Linked DNA regions of Homo sapiens: region 1 is linked to region 2. Evidence: promoter capture Hi-C in human tissues and cell types (Jung and others, 2019). All regions are on one chromosome and are shown on one strand. The core of a region is centred on a gene start or on the middle of the fragment in contact, and the rest is flanking DNA. Distances in the headings are between cores, read along the strand shown. Region 1 overlaps GRIA4 (glutamate ionotropic receptor AMPA type subunit 4). Region 2 holds the start of MSANTD4 (Myb/SANT DNA binding domain containing 4 with coiled-coils).

The links. Contacts are between HindIII fragments. The study calls those that stand out against the background at their distance.
Region 1: a contact is called between a fragment that was not itself captured here and the fragment with the promoter of MSANTD4 in region 2, in 2 of the 25 tissues and cell types used here (H1 embryonic stem cells and hippocampus).

Annotation. Positions count from the first base shown.
Region 1 is chr11:105,950,093-105,953,566 of GRCh38, forward strand. All of the region lies in intron 14 of GRIA4 (glutamate ionotropic receptor AMPA type subunit 4), which reads left to right. Among named protein-coding and RNA genes, the nearest start is that of MSANTD4, 70 kb to the right of the region's middle. The HindIII fragment of the contact is 3,763 bases long and covers 184-3,474 here.
Region 2 is chr11:106,020,559-106,023,749 of GRCh38, forward strand. MSANTD4 (Myb/SANT DNA binding domain containing 4 with coiled-coils) reads right to left here and starts at 1,682. Exons shown (of 3, transcript NM_032424.3): 1 at 404-1,682. RefSeq lists enhancers at 1,204-1,323, 2,154-2,223 and a silencer at 1,654-1,763. The HindIII fragment of the contact is 5,723 bases long and covers 1-3,191 here.

The DNA of each region.
Region 1 (3,474 bases), core at 815-3,314, 70 kb before region 2:
TCAGAAAAGTTAGAATAATATCTTGGAGGCAATCATGAATTTGTGAAGATTTTTGACAAGGCATTCTAAAAAGCAGTGAAGCAAAGTTATTCTGACTCTGGGTAGCAGAGAATGGATTGAGAAAGCCAGTGGATCTGGTCTTGGGTGATAAAGGCTTCAACTAAAGTGATGCCAGTTTAATAGAAATGAAAATATAAATATGAGAGTCACTTGTCATAAAAACAGTTCTTAATGGATAATTGGCTAGAGGAAAGGAAGGGAAATGAAAATTCAAAGATGAGACTGAGTTTTTGTGGTTGGGCCTTGTTATTTTGGTATTCATTTTTACAGTCCTATTTCTTCTGTGTAAAATCTCCTAATTCATTATACTGAAGCTTCTATATGGTACTGTTCTTGGGACCCAAGATTACATGTCTCAAAAGATTAGAACTTAAATCAATAAGAACTTTGTATGTATGAAAAAAAAGACATTTTAACTTTGGAAGAAAATCTTACCATCTAGTTAAATCAAGTCATTTCATATAGATATTGGTAATGCTTTTCAAAGAAAATTATCTACTACCCTTCCTTCTTGGGTATTTAGGCTGTATCTGTTCAGTTGACAAGACCACCTGCCTTTCAAGTTTTTTCTCAGCTCAAGGAGTATTTAGCCTGAGAGAACTGAAATTGCCATCTTACAATGGCTTCCAAAACTTAATCAGGCATAGACCCTACCAAGCCTGACAAACTTCCCAGGAAAAAGAAAATTTCCCACAGAGAGCCATAGAAGGATGAATATATAGTTTAGCTATACAGGGAAGAGTCATGATAGGAAACCAAAGGTATCCTGGTACTGTAGGAAGAACACTGGACCAGAAGGCAGAAGACCTGTGCCCCAGCTGGACTTTGATGGACAAGTCACCTAACTTTCATTAGGCCCCAGGGACTGCATCCTAGGGCCTAATAAGAAGGATGGGCATAACCTCTAACCTACATTTTGATTCAAAAATTCTGGGATTCTAAGTCTTTAAAGCAATTGATGAAAGTTTTTAGGAGTCAGCAAAGAATGGGAAAAGTAAAGATGATCTGTGGACCATGGAATGGAATTCTGGAAATCACATAAGGAGATGAAGAAATCAAGAGTAAGAGACAGTGGGGGAGTCCACACAGCAAATCCTGGTCCAGGCAGGGCATCTGCATGAAAGACACAGTACTGTTGAACAGCTCACATGCTGTTTATGTAACAGAGACCAGTTCTTATATTTTAAAATTATATTTTACCTACTTTAAAGCAAATTTACTTTAGAATAATAATAACCACAACTTGAAAAATGAATGCTATTCAGAGATAACTTGAAGAACTTCACTAGCTAGGCATGGTCTCATTTGAAACAAAGCTTTCATATGTATAATTTGAGCACAGTGATAACAACAAGGGAATGGCCTGAGGCAGGGACTTTACTGAGTATAGTCTCAAACACCCCAAGGCCACCACAAATAAATAAAATGTGTGGTATGAAATATGAATAGTTGATATTTTCTCAATATTATATAACTGAAGGCATCTTTTCACATTTTTTTTTAAATTTTTATTGGTTTCACATTCAGTATTTAAAAATGGGAGTGGGTATGGTGGCTCACACTTGTAATCCCAGGCAGGTGGATCGCTTCAGCCCAGGAGTTCGAGACCAGCATGGGCAACATGGCAAAACCACATTTCTACAAAATATACAAAAATTAGCTGGGTATGGTGGTGTGCACTTGCAGTCAATCTTAGCTACTCAGGAGGCTGAGGTGGGAGGATCACCTGAGCCTCGGGAGGTCAGGGCTGCAGTGAGCCATGATCATGCCACTTCACTCCAGCCTGGGCAACAGAGTGAGACCCTGTCTCAAAAAATAAAAATAATAAAAAATTAAAATGTTCTGCATATGATGCAACTGTACAATGATCACAGATTGAGGCTAGTACTTTGGAAATCCCTTCTCAATAAATCAGTCTTAAAACCTCTGCTCTATTAACATTCTGAGCCACCAGGTGTCATAGAAATGTTTTTATTTCGCTTACCTTTAATAGACAGACTTAGAAGTCATCACTATTTTTAAAATAAATGTTATTCGAATTTAGAACAGATATATTTTTAATCTGTGTTCAAGTTGCCCTTCCAAGGTCTGTGAACCCCTGAAATTATGTATAAGTCTGGGGTTTTGTAAGTTTTTGCATTTCTTCCTGAGAAAGTATTTGTACTTTCATTGAATTCTAAAAGAGAACCATGACCCAAAGTAGGTAAAAAAATTCTACTCTGTGACCTAAAATTGACAAAATCATGAAGCTAAGTTTCATGAAATATTTGTAAATATTACCTAAAAAATACTCAACACTAAAAATGTAATTAAAATTTTCATTGATCAAACTCCCTAGCTAATGCTCTGGCTAAGTTCCTGGGAGATATCCTAACAAAAATCACAAAGCTCCTTCAAGGAATAACATTCCTCAGATCCATGTCTCAACTAGAAATTAATCATGCAAATTCCAATGAACATGCAATTTAGAGACAATTGCTGGAATCCAGACAAGTATCTGTGTAACTTGTTCAGCTCTCCTTGACTCAACTTGGAATATGAAATACAAAGGTTTCCACACTAACTTAATTACATATATGTCATCTAAAACCCAAACCAAAGACACTAAATCCTTCCTTATCAAAGTAGTTTTCAAGTGCTCATTGCAAATCATGCTGGGTCTGAATTGTCTTTCCACTTACAAAAATTTTTCTCTCCTTATTTTAATATTAAATTCCTGATCAATAGTACCATTTAATGCAAATCTTACTTGTCATCGCATAGGCAAACTGGAGTAAAAATTCAATATCTTTTCTAAAAACTTTTTGCATATATATGTAGAGCAATCTAGCCCAAATTCTGCCTTTGGAAATGAGTGCACAAATCCAATGAAGCAAAAAGAGCCTTGTGCTTGTCTACTGGAATGAATAATTTGGGAAGAAAAGTAATAACACAGCTACAAGTTAAATTGAAAACTTAGTGGAGCATTGATAATGCTGAAAACTGGCTACTCTTCGAGGCTAAATAGTTGATAAAGGGTAGAATTGCGAATGCAAAAGCCTTTCCTTAAAATTAGACATATTTAGTTCTTCACTCTTCATCATTTGACAGCCTATTGATTCTTATTTACTTTTTGTGTTTTCTTGATTAATAAAATAGTCATTTTTTCTCAGTAGGTCATTAATTGACTTTACACAGAGTTCTGGGGTTGTTGTAAATTCTCAGCTTTTTTGCTTACTTGCTCCATTCACCTTTATCTGGAAGATGTCATTAATTAAACTACAAAAGTAAATCCTACATGATATTTGCTTCTCTCTACCTATTTCATCTTGTTATATGGAATACGCATAGAACTTTTGTGAAAATACTGACAATGCAGCTATATTTAATAACAGAATGAATAGTCTATGTAGAGTTGGTTATTCATATTTCATG
Region 2 (3,191 bases), core at 432-2,931:
TTTAGAAATCGCATTGTTGTAAATGTATTGGTACATGGTAGAAATAGCAGTCCTTTTGAAGTACCACTGAGTCAATATATTTTTAAAGTTTGACAGCAGCTGTTGCTATTTGCAGGGCCTATTTTTGACCAACAATTCCTAACTCCATATCTCTAACTTACAAAGTGGTATCCCGTTGTCCTGACTGATCTATTCTGAACTGATGAACTATTTCATTTAATCAAATGGGCTTTAATACATTTTTAACCTGACTGAAATTGATATTGGGATGCACCTTAGATACCCAGTCTTGGCTTAATTGTGTGAAAATCTTCTTCTAAAACCTTGATATTTTCTGATTAAGTGCAAGAAAGTGCCAGCATTGATGCATCTTGAGTTGTTGAAGTTCTGTAGATATGCTTACCTGGATAAAAGCCATTTCCAGAAATGTTTGTCTTCCTGTCCTCTCCTTTATATGCCGGTATCCAAGTAACAGAAGCTTGGGTTTTCTACCATCCATTCATTCCCCAATAATTTCCTCAAAAAATACTTACTGAGCTCCTACTGTGTGAAAGGCACTATTTTTGGTGCTGGGGATATAACACCTCATAAAATGTGAAAATATGTCATTTTAGATGTCAAACACTATCCCTTTTCTATTGCCTGTCATCGCTCTCTTAGCAGAAAGGATTCAACAGCTGCAGTCTCTAAAACTTACAAACCTTCTATGCCCAATCACAGAGAACAGCCATTTTCTAAAATCCCATTTCACAATCGTTCTTCACTAGTTGGAAACAGGAATGAGATGTAGTTCACTTACGTAATCCTTGTGAAGATGATGTACTGCCAATGGCATAATATAACCAGGCAACTTTTTACAAGCACTAAAACTTGAGAATGAAGTTCCTAGATACTTCATGATAAGTCAGAATTAAGAAGTCTGAGAAAAACCAGACGGCAAGTTCCGGATCAAAAAAATTTGAGGGTAAATTAGTTAAGCAGTTCAAGAAGAAAAGCATCACAAATCTACAATATCAAACCCTACCCAAATTCTCTTTAAAGTGTGGCTTTCCCCTCCCCTATATTCTTATAGGGGATTCACTTCCCTGCCAAAAAGTATGTTCTTCTCTAAAACTCGTGGTAGGTGCATAACAAGTATACTTATGGGTCGACGGTTATCAAAGTATCTTTCACCTCCCTCCCGCTGCCTCCTTTGGGACCGTCCAAAAAGAGCCCCTGGGAAGAATCGAGTTAGACTGGGCTCCCGGAAGGCCACCCAGGGGAGCAGGGGCGCGCACCTGCCTCGGCCACAATGATGAGGTTGCTGCTGGTAGGAGTCCCGGTGGGAGTCGGGGCAACCTGGAAGATCTCCTCTCTCTGGGTATTAAATGAGAGTCCCGACTGAGTGCCCAGAAACTTCTGCAGTCTTGTTTCCGTGGCCTGGGCCCTCCCCAGCCTCCCCGGTCAGGCGACAGACGCGCGTGGCACTTCTCCCGAGCGTGCAGTCCCGCTACGTCGCAGCCCTTGGACCAAACCCGGCAGCAAGCGTTGCGCCAATTGCCGCTGACCCCTCCGGGACCCTACCCACTGCGAGGGCACCCACTGGTCACGGAGCCGCCGCTTCCCTGGCCGCCTCCTCCAGCATAGAACCGCTCACCTGCGACCCCGGCGGCACCTCCCCACGGTCGCCCCAAGGGGGGTAGGAAAAAAGATGCTTCATTGATCCCCCGCCCACTAACTGGGCCCGCCCATCTCCCGCCACCCCAATGGCTCATATGGCTGCCGCTCATTTGATGAGTCTCATCCATTGGTTAGAATGGTGTAGCCATTCTGGCTGAGAGCCCGCCCTAGGCCTGGCCTCACAATGGGAATCAAGTCCCAAACCGGTTCCGGGTTAGTGCCCTGGAATTCCGCCCCCTCGTGATTCACCTCCCTGTCTGTGCCCCGTCTGTGGCGCGCAGCTCTGTCAGTCAAGTGGACTCTAGGAAGGGATTGGCCCCTAGAGATCCGCTTGCTGCGCTGTTCCAACTGATTGGGGCACTGGCCGCTGCATCTCCAAACTCGTCTCTTGTCCTTGACCCTCACCTGTTAAAAGGGCAAAGAAGAAGTAGGAAACTTGTGCTGCTCCAGTCGGGTTCTTAGGCCAGCATCACCTTCTCCTCGACCAGCTGCGACCTAATTGGCCTCAGCCATTCCTCTAAGGCTGCCCGTGCCAAAGGTCGCTGGTGACTTCCTTATGGCTAAATCTAGGAGTCACTTCTTAGTCCTTATCATACTATATACTTCCCAGAAGACATTTGAATTTTTTTTTTTTTTTTTTTTTTTTTTTACCATTCTTCACTGTTTCCCCAAATATGTGCTTCTGCTTTCTTCTCTCCCAGTCCTCCTCTATATTCAAGTTTGCAGTTGCTTATTTTCTGCCGTCTCACGTTCAGGTGTTTGTGATTAGTGCACCTTTCTTCCCGCTGCCTCTGTCCAGGCCTCTGTGGACTCACCTGAATTCCATCAGTAGCCTCCTAGCTGGTCTCCCAACATCCTGTCTGCCGGACTGTAGTTCATTCTTCACGTTGTAGCCAAAATGAGCTGCTTAAAGTTTTTTAGTGGAATCTCACCACTGGTGATACAGTACAAACTCCTTATCGAACCTGAAAAATAAGGCACCTACTTTTCCCTCAACCTTCATCTCTCGACATTATACCCACATTTCTTCTTCCTTACCCCATTCCCTTTGCTTCTTTCAGTTCCTGAACTCTACAGTGGCTACTGGGAAGTCAGTTTGCATTGCTGTGTTTCCTCCCTGCTTCTCCGCTATGCCTAGCATTCATTTTTAGAAATTCCTTTCTAAAGGAAGGCTTCCAAAATTATCTCCATTCACCCTCCCTCCACTTCCAAGTATTCCCTTCCCTGTAGGTTTGCCAGATAAAAACAGGACGCTCAGTTAAATTTGAAGTTCAGATAAAAAGCAAATAATTTTTAATCTGTCCAATGGAATATTTGGTATCCATATGTTTATTTGCTAAATTTAAAAAAATAAAAATTTTTGTTTACTAAATCTGCAAGCCTACTTCAGCGAGCTCTCATCACGGCCTTTCCTCTGACAGCACTTCCCACATATTTTATGTGGGTGGGGCTTTTCTTGTTTACTGTTGTGAATAACACAGTGCCTAGAATGTAACAGACAAAAAAGATTTGGTAAATAAATGGTGGAATAT